Regions from separate parts of the Homo sapiens genome. Here region 2 is linked to region 1. Evidence: promoter capture Hi-C in human tissues and cell types (Jung and others, 2019). All regions are on one chromosome and are shown on one strand. Each heading gives the region's core, a stretch centred on a gene start or on the middle of the fragment in contact. The rest is flanking DNA. Distances are from core to core; before and after follow the strand shown.

What was found. Contacts are between HindIII fragments. The study calls those that stand out against the background at their distance.
Region 2: a contact is called between a fragment that was not itself captured here and the fragment with the promoter of ZBTB8B in region 1, in 1 of the 25 tissues and cell types used here (aorta).

Annotation. Positions count from the first base shown.
Region 1 is chr1:32,463,216-32,468,021 of GRCh38, reverse strand. ZBTB8B (zinc finger and BTB domain containing 8B) reads right to left here and starts at 2,950. Exons shown (of 4, transcript NM_001145720.2): 1 at 2,917-2,950. The HindIII fragment of the contact is 24,686 bases long and covers 1-4,806 here.
Region 2 is chr1:32,611,534-32,616,247 of GRCh38, reverse strand. It overlaps LOC102723870 (a long non-coding RNA gene), which reads left to right and starts at 3,758. Exons shown (of 3, transcript XR_426677.5): 1 at 3,758-4,205. RefSeq lists a silencer at 3,863-3,972 and an enhancer at 3,741-4,242. The HindIII fragment of the contact is 6,500 bases long and covers 1-4,714 here.

The DNA of each region.
Region 1 (4,806 bases), core at 1,701-4,200:
ACCTCAGCCTCCCGAGTAGCTGGGACTACAGGTACCCACCCCCACGCCAGGCTAATTTTTTTTGTACTTTTGGTAGAGACAGGGTTTTGCCATGTTGCCCAGGCTGGTCTCGAACTCCTGGCCTCAAGTGATCTGCCCCCCTCAGCCTCCTAAAGTGCTGGGGTTACAGGTGTGAGACACCACACCTGGCCTCTGAGTTGGGTTTTCTATTTCATGCAACTGGGAGACTCCTAACTGACTGATTCCACTACCCTTGGTTAACTCCTGTTTATTATTTATGTCCTGGCCCTTCTCTGTCAATGAACTACAAGCCCTTTGAAAGCATGAGCCATGTCTTATTCAATTTTATATCCCTTACAGTATCTGGCAGAGTGCTTTGGACAAAATAGATTTGTTAAGCAAAAAAGGAATATTCATTTCTTAACTGCTTAGTAGATAAACTATAAACCAAGTTTAAAATCCACTTGGGGCCGGGTGTGGTGGCTCACACTTGTAATCCCAGCACTTTGGGAGGCCAAGGTGGGTAGATCACCTGGGGTCAGGAGTTCGAGACCAGCCTGGCCAACGTAGTGAAACCCCGTCTCTACTAAAAATACAAAAAAATTAGCTGGGCATGGTGGCGGGCACCTGTAATCCCAGCTACTCGGGAGGCTGAGGCAGGAGAATCACTTGAACCCAGGAGGCGGTGGAGGCGGAGGCTGCAGTGAGCAGAGATTGTGCCACTGCACTCCAGCCTGGGCGATAGTGCGAGACTCCATCTCAAAAAAAAAAAAAAAAACAAGTGTGTGGAGGGACTTTCGCCTTTCATTTTAAACCTTTCTGATAGAATGTTTTACTATGTGCATGTATTGCTTTTCTTTTCTTTTGAGACGGGGTCTTACTTTGTTACCCAGGCTGGAGTGCAGTCCATGATCACAGTTCACTGCCGCCTCGACCTCCCAGGCTCAAGCAATCCTCCTACCTCAGCCTCCCAAGTAGCTGTGACTACAGGCATGCAGCACCACACTCAGCTAATTCTGAAAACATTTTTTTGTAGAGATGGGGTCTCACTATGTTGCCCTGGCTGGTCTCAATGGTCTTGAACTCCTGGACTCAAGTGATCCTTCTGCCTTGGCTTTTTTCTTTGTTAACTAAGAAAAAAAGGAGGCAGGGCAGAGGGGTAAGGAGTTGGTAAGCCAGGTAGATAAATATGTAAGTACGCACAACACTTCTTAACTTGTAGTATGGTCTGATCTATAGGGGCTCTTCCCAGGGCACTTCCGTCTTTCACTGGAAAAGCCTCCTTTCCAGAAATAGCACCTAAAACCAATTTCTTTTGGCTTTCTTACTGAAATTATTTTTTATTCTATTGCAATTATTTTTATTCTACTTCCTGACGTTGCAAAAGTCTATCCGTATAGTATTTTCTTCAAAATTTTCCCCAATCCTGTACTTGGTATATATTGTGTAAATATTTATTTATATCACCCCCATTTGCCTGAAGTGCTCTGCTGCCCCGGGAAGTGCTGAGGATCACCACTTATCCCAGAAGAGCAGCTCTTAGGGCAGACTGCTCTCAGAAGCACATTTATCCGCACTCTGGCAGGGAACCTCCCAACCATCCCACGGTTCCAACTCAATTCAACGGTTACCGGCTACATACAATGCCTGACACAAGGAAGATGCCAGGAATAGAAAAATGAACCAAGTATAGTGCCTGTCCTCCAGGAGACAGCAGATGCCAACACAACTACCTGCAATACAAACTCTCATATACCCTTGAGGGAGTCCTAGCCAGATCACACAACTGTCTCTGTTCAGAGGCCAAAAGCAGCCTTGAATTCCACCTCCGACCCTTTCTGACAAGACTCCTCCAGTCCCACCAACCTGAGAATAACAAAAACCTGCTCCTCAATTTTAGTAAATATTAAGCACTATTCCTTATAAAACACTGTACAAAGTACAAGCATATTCATTTTACTTTTTAAATTAAAATTTTTAAAAGGCACGGTCTTGCTCGGTTGCCCAGGTTGGAGTGCACGATCCTACCTCAATGCAGCCTGGAACTCCTGGGCTCAAGAGATCCTCCCAACCTTAGCTTCCCGAGTAGCAGGGACTACAGGTGCGCGCCACCATGCCTGGCTTTTACAAGCACATTAGTTTTCACCTCACAATAATCCAGTACGACAGATACTCTAACTACATCCTCTTTTTCAGAGGAGGAACTGAGATTCAAAGATGCAGATAACATCACCAAGTTAGTAATAGAACAGAGATCCGACTGACTCCCGGGTTGACATCCTTAACCACTATGCTAACCGGCCTCCTCAAACCCTCCAGGACACGATGCGACAGGTTGGGGAAGTCACTCCTTTCTTTTAGGCATGGATCGGAGGAGAAGGACACTGGAGAAGTTTCCATTTCCATACGAAGAATTTCAGGGTCAACTGCATCTAAACTGCTCGCAAGACAGACCCTCCCCCGTCCAGCATCAGACGACCTGCAGAGAGGCCACCAGAACCAGCTACAGGGCACGGCCCCCGAGGGTGGGACCCCAAGGCCTAGCCCCTCCCATGGCCTCCCGCGGACAAAGTGGCCATCGCTGCCGCTGGCACTTCTCCAGTGTGGCCGAGCCCCCCACGCCTGGGCACCATTCACCGTGGAAGTAGTCGGCGCCGCGACCCCCGGCTGGACGACGCGGAGGACACCCAATGACAGGGAAGCTGGGGCCCCACGGCCGCGCCTGCCCCTCCCCACGCTAGAAGGGCTCGCGGGGCGGAGGTCCCAGGAGTTGCCAGGGCCAAGCGGTCCGAAGGAGGATGACTGAGTGGGGGCAACCCTGCCCGCTAACCCCAATCTCCAGCCAGCCTCCCGGGTGCTAGGAATCCTCCCCAAACCAACGAAAGCGGCAGCGCCAACCCGCTTCTTCGCGCTCACCTTCCAGCGGGTTCCAGCAGCGCAGCCACGGAGCACCGCGCACCGACACGCCCCCCTTTCATTCACCTGGCGCCCTCCGATGAGAGGCGGGGCGGCTGGCCAATCGCGGGAGCGCCTGGCCTCGGGAAGGCGGGCCCTTCGGCCAGCAGGGTGGTCAATGGCGCTGGTGCCCCTCGGAGGATGCGCTCTGAAGGCGCTGGTGCTCGCAGGGTGATGGGAGTTGTGGTCTCAGCGCTGGCTTTTCGGGTAAAGATAGAGTGGACAAAACTACAAGTACCAAGATGCCAAAAGGGGCGAGGACCAGTGCTAGCGAAAGGCTGCAGCTCGGTTCGGTCTTTTGAGTCCCACTTGAGGGACCTGCCAAGTACCGGTCTCTTTGTCTGGAGAGCGAAAAGCACGTCGTGGGTATTAATGCAGTCCAGGGAATAAGAGCTTTGACTCATCAGTCCGCACATATTTCACCTACTGGCGCTTTCCGCAAAAATCTGGAAATAAGGGAAATGGTTTAATCGATTCAACAGGTTTTTATTGCATACCCGCGGTTTCTTTCACTGGGTAGTCGTTACAAAAGATAAAAGATTCAGCTCTTCCCTTGACAGGCTCTCCGGTTCATACATACTAGTGAAACGGTTAAATGGCAGTACTAGGTGCTAAGTGACCGTACAGGCGTGTTCTTGTCAGCTGTGAGCAAGACAAGGCAGCTTACCGCTCTCAGGGAGCTTAGTTCTCATGGGGGTGTATTCGTTTGCTAGGGCTGCTGTACCTAAGTATCACCAACCCGGTGGCGTCAATAACAGATCTTATTGTCTGACAATCCTGGGGGCATCTGAAAGCAAGATGTTGGCAGGGTTCTTTCCTTCTGAGCGCTGTGAGGAAACGGTCTCTTCCAGGCTTCTCTCCTGGGCTTGCATATGGCCATCTTCATGTTCACAGGGCATATTCCCTGTATATGTCTCCATGTCAAAATGTCTCCTTTTGGTTGCAGTGAGTCGAGATCGCGCCACTGCACTCCAGCCTGGGGCGACAGAGAGAGACTCCGTCTCCAAAAAAAAAGTATTTTTATAAGGATACCAGTCATATTGGATTAGGGGTTCACTCTATGCCAGTATGACTTTTTTTTTTTTTTTTTTTTTTTTTTTGAGACGGAGTCTCAGACTCTGTTGCCCAGGCTGGAGTGGTGGCGGGTGGATCACCTGAGGTCAGGAGTCCGAGACCAGCCTGGCCAACATGGTGAAACCCCATCTCTACTAAAAATACAAAAATTAGCCGGGCGTGGGCCAGTAATCCCAGCTACTTGGGAGGCTGAGGCAGGAGAATGCTTGAACCAAAGAGATTGCAGTGAGTGGAGATCTGGCCACTGCACTCCAGCCTGGGCAGCAGAGCAAGACTCTGTCTCAAAAAAAAAAAAAAAAAAAAAAAAGGCTACCCCCTTCGCTGAGAGACCCTAATGAGGAGTAGTGAGCCATGCTAAGATAAAACAGAAAACCGGTTGGTACATATCTAAGAAACAGGAGAATGCCATTGGGTTGAGGAAGTGGATGGCAGGTAGACCAGCTTAATGGACGTGCAACCCACGCAGTGGCACAGGCCCGCACACTCAGAAAGGGCTGGTGCTTCCAGGTGAGGTTTTATACTTAACAAAACAAAACAAAAAAAGAGCCAGGTGCGGTGGCTTACACCTGTAATCCCAGCACTTTGGGAGGCTGAGGCGGGCGGATCACTTGAGACCAGCCTGGCCAACATGGCAAAACCCAGTGTCTACTAAAAATACAAAAATTAGCTGGGCATGGTGACACATACCTGTAATCCCAGCTACTCGGGAGGCTGAGGCATGAGAATCACTTGAACATGGAAAGTGGAGGTTGCAGTGAGCTGAGATTGTGCCACTGC
Region 2 (4,714 bases), core at 1,824-4,323, 150 kb before region 1:
CACCACACCCAGCTGATCTCTTATCACTGGTACCTCCCATCTAAGATGGCTAAGTGGTTGTATTCACAGCCTCTTTTGCCAGTTCTTTCCAGTTTGGAAGAGAATGTTCAAGGAGAACCATTCATACCCTTCTCAAGACAGGAGCAGTGCCATCATGAACTACTGGGGCTACTCCCTCACCCAATCTGACCTGCAGAAGGCTTGGGGATTACCAGATTCTGCCCAGTAAGAAGCCCTGAATGATTTCAACAATACTAGCTTTGCCGCAGAGAAACTATGAGACTGAGAATTTAGTTTCCTCACTTCAGAAACGAGGACATTGGAAAAGATATCCTCCAAAAGCTCTTCCAGAGCAAACTGTCAGAATTTAGTGACTGTATTACTGTATCAGTATGATTTCCTAATGTGCTATGTACATTTTTTTTGTTTAATTACCTATAAGTGGCCTGGCGCGATAGCTCATGCCTGTAATCACAGCACTTTGGGAGGCTGAGGTAGGTGGATCACCTAAGGTCAGGAGTTCGAGACAAGCCTGGCCAACGTGGTGAAACCCCATCTCTACTAAAAATACAAAAATTAGCTGGGCATGGTGGCGGGCGCCTGTCATCCCAGCTACTCTGGAGGCTGAGGCAGGAGAATTGTTTGAACCTGGGAGGTGGAGGTTGCAGTGAGCCAAAATCACACCATTGCACTCCAGCCTGGGCGACAAGAGCGAAACTCCTTTTCAAAAAAAAAAAATTTACATATAAGTAATTGCTTAATGTTAAATTCTGGACATGCAAGAGTGTGCTTTTAGAATGAACCAACATTATGGCCAGGTGCAGTGGCTCATGCCTGTAATCCCAGCACTTTGGGAGGCCGAGGCAGGTGGATCACCTGAGGTTGGGAGTTTGAGACCTGCCTGACCAACGTGGAGAAACCCCGTCTCTACTAAAAGTACAAAATTAGCTGGGCGTGGTGGCACATGCCTGTAATCCCAGCTACTAGGGAGGCCGAGGCAGGAGAATCGCTTGAACCTGGGAGGTGGAGGTTGCGGTGAGCTGAGATCTCACCACTGCACTCCAGCCTGGGCAACAAGAGCGAAACTCCATCTCAAAAAAAGAATGAACCAACATTTATTTTGTCATAAATGCATATCCAGGTCTCCACTGTACAAAACATTTTTCTAGGTGCTTCCATCTGGAAAATGTTACCCATTTGTCATACCGGCAATTTTACATGTAGTACATTTATTCTACTTTTTATTAATGAGGAAATTAGTGACAACTAAGACTATCTGGCTATAAGAGGCAGACTTGGGACTTCAGACTCTAGTCAATGTATTTACACAAGATTCTTTTTTTTTTGAGACAGAGTCTCACTCTGTCGCCAGGCTGGAGTGCAATGGCGTGATCTTGGCTCACTGCAACCTCCGCCTCCTGGGTTTAAGTGATTCCCCTGCCTCAGCCTCCCAAGTAGGTGGGACTACAGGCACCAACCACCATGCCTGGCTAATTTTTTGTATTTTTAGTAGAGATGGGGTTTCACCATGTTGGCCAGGATGGTCTCAATCTCCTGACCTCGTGATCCACTTGCCTTGGCCTCCCAAACGTGCATGGTGGTGCGCGCCTGTAATCCCAGCTACTCGGGAGGCTGAGGCAGGAGAATCGCTGGAACCCAGGAGGCAGAGGTTGCAGTGAGCCAAGATTGCACCACTGCCCTCCAGCCTGGGCAACAGAGCGAGACTCCGTCTAAAAAATAAAATGAAATTAATATAATATAATATAATATAATATAATATAATATAATATAATATAATATAATATAACATAATATAATAATAAACTACCTCCCAGTATAAACACTAAAGACATTATAGTCATGGGCTCTGAGGACTAGGCTCTGATTTTTTTTCTTGCCCAAATTCCTATCTAAGGGGTCTGGGGAATCATGCCCTACAAACCATAAATTTTCATCAGATGAGTTTTATTTAACCCTATATATCATGACTTACTTTCCAATCTGACTCTGGCATAACATTTTTTTTTTTTTTTGAGACAGTCTCAGTCTGTCACCCAGGCTGGAGTACAGTGGTGCGATCTCGGCTCACTGCAGCCTCCACCTCCTGGGTTTAAGTGATTCTCCTACCTCACCTCCCAAGTAGCTGGGACTATGGGCATGTGCCATCGCACCCGGCTAATTTTTGTATTTTTAGTAGAGACAGGGTTTCACCATGTTGGCCAGGCTGGTCTGGAACTCCTGGCCTCAGGTGATCCGCCCACCTCGGCCTCCCAAAGTGCTGGAATTACAGGTGTAAGCCACCGTGCCCAGCCTTCTTTTCAGAAAGAAAGTCTGGCTCTGTTGCTCGGAGTACAGTGGCATGATCATAGCTCACTGCAGCCTTAAACTCCTGGGCTCAGGTGATCATCCTGCCTCAGCCTCCTGAGTGGCTGGGACTACAGGCATGTGTCACTATGCCTGACTGCTGTTTTTTTGGGAGACAGTATAACTACCCAGTGGGTTCACCTTACCTGCTGCCTAGACAGAGGCGATTTATGAAGACAGGGGAATTGCAATAGGGAAAGAGTAATTCACGCAGAGCTGGCTCTGCGGGAGACCAGAGTTATATTATGACTCAATTAAGTTTGCCCAGTATTTGGGGATCAGAGTTTTTAAGGACAACTTGGTGGGTGGGGGGAAACCAGTGAGCCGGGAGTGCTAATTGGTCAGGTCACAGATGAAATCATAGGGAGTGGAAGCTGTCTTCTTGCGCTAAGTCAGTTCTTAGGTGTGGGGGGGGGGGGGTCACAAGATCAGATGAGCCAGTTTATCGATCTGGGTGGTCCCAGCTGATCCATCAAGTGCAGGGTCTGCAAAATATCTCAAACACTGATCTGAAGAGCAGTTTAGGGAGGGTCAAGATTTTGTAACCTCCAGCTGCATGAATCCTAAACCATAATTTCTAATCTTGTGGCTAATTTCTTAGTCCTACAAAGGCAGCCTAGTCCCCAGGCAAGGAGGTTTGTTTTGGGAAAGGGCTGTTATCATCTTTGTTTTAAACTATAAACTATAAGTTTCTCCCGAAGTTAGTTCAGCCTCCACCCAGGAATGAACAAGGATAGCTTGGAGGTTAGAAGCAAGATGGAGTCAGGTTAGATCTCTTTCCACTGTCTCAGTCATAATTTTGCAAAGGCAGTATTTTGCCCAGGCTGGTCTCAAACTCCTGGCCTCAAGCAATCCTTCCACTTCCTCCTCCCAAAGTGCTGGTATTACAGGCGTCAGTCACTGTGTCCAGCCCCCTCTTTAATTCTAAAGAAGGTCCACAGTGCTTGGTGAAGGGGTGTCATCATTCTAGAGACAACCCTGGGAGCCCGTGCCATCTGCACAAGTGACATGGTAGCTAGAATCTTAGTTTATTAAGCTGGGCAGGCTGAGTCACTCGTTTCTGCTTTTCCCTCTCCTTTCTCTTCTCCAGACTTATTTCCCGTCTCCTACTTATCTACTGTGGCTTTTTCCTGTGCTAATCTAGCTTTCTTTCTCCCATATCTTCGTTGAGCATCTATATTCAAAAGCCTGCACTTCAGGCCAGGCGCGGTGGCTCACGCTTGTAATCCCAGCACTTTGGGAGGCGAGGTGGGTGGATCACATGAGGCCAGGAGTTCAAGACCAGTCTGGCCAACATGGTGAAACCTCGTCTCTAATAAAAATACAAAAAAATTAGCCGGGCATGTGGCGCACGCCCATAATCTCAGATACTAGGGAGGCTGAGGCGGAAGAATCGCTTCAACCCGGGAGGCAGAGGTCACAGTGAGCTGAGATCGAGCCACTGCACCCCAGCCTGGGCGACAGGACGCCAGTGAGATGCCTCTGGCCAAATCCCACGGGAGTGGTTCCCTGGCATCACGCGTCCAGGCTCCGCCCCGGCCCTTCTCGCGGCTCCCATTGGCTCGGCCGCGGACTCCTGGGGCGCCGACACCTCCTACTGGCCGCCGCGGCGAGGTCAGGGAGCAGGGCACTGGCCAGTCCCAGCTGAGTTGGGAGGTGTCGGGGACGCAAGTGACTTCACAGAGCACAATGTCATAACCTTAAGTAACACCAGACAACTTTTCCTAAAGTGGGGATAAGATAGGCTTGCTCTGTAGGCTGCAGGTCTTAAGCACCTGCGGCGGCATCTGATCGCGCGGATTCGAGTCCCCTCCGCCCCTGAGTCGTGGCGTGGCTTCCAGGTTAGTCATTCCAGTGCACAACCCCCCAAGTCCAACTGTTTTAAATGAGGACGGTGCTGGATCTAGTCGGTGCCTGGCAAATGTGGGCTTTTTATTTTTATTTTTTAATTTATTTTTATATTTTTTTTCTGAGATGGAGTTTTGCTCTTTTTGCCCAGGCTGGAGTGCAATGGCATGATCTCGGCTCACTGCAACCTCCGCCTCCCGGGTTCAAGTGATTCTTCTGCCTCAGCCTCCCGAGTAGCTGGGATTACAGGCGCCCACCACCACGCTCTGCTAATTTTGTATTTTTAGTAGAGACGGGGTTTCACGATGTTGGCCAGACTGACCTGATCTCAGGTGATCCGCCGGCCTCGACCTCCCAAAGTGCTGGGATTACAGGCGTAAGCCACTGCGCCGGGCCAAATGTGGGCTTTTTATAAGGCGTCCACTACACACGACAGAAAAATGCCTATTTCCCCCTATCGCCCCCAGAGTCTAGCTAATCTAGCTTTAGGAGTGTCTGGTAA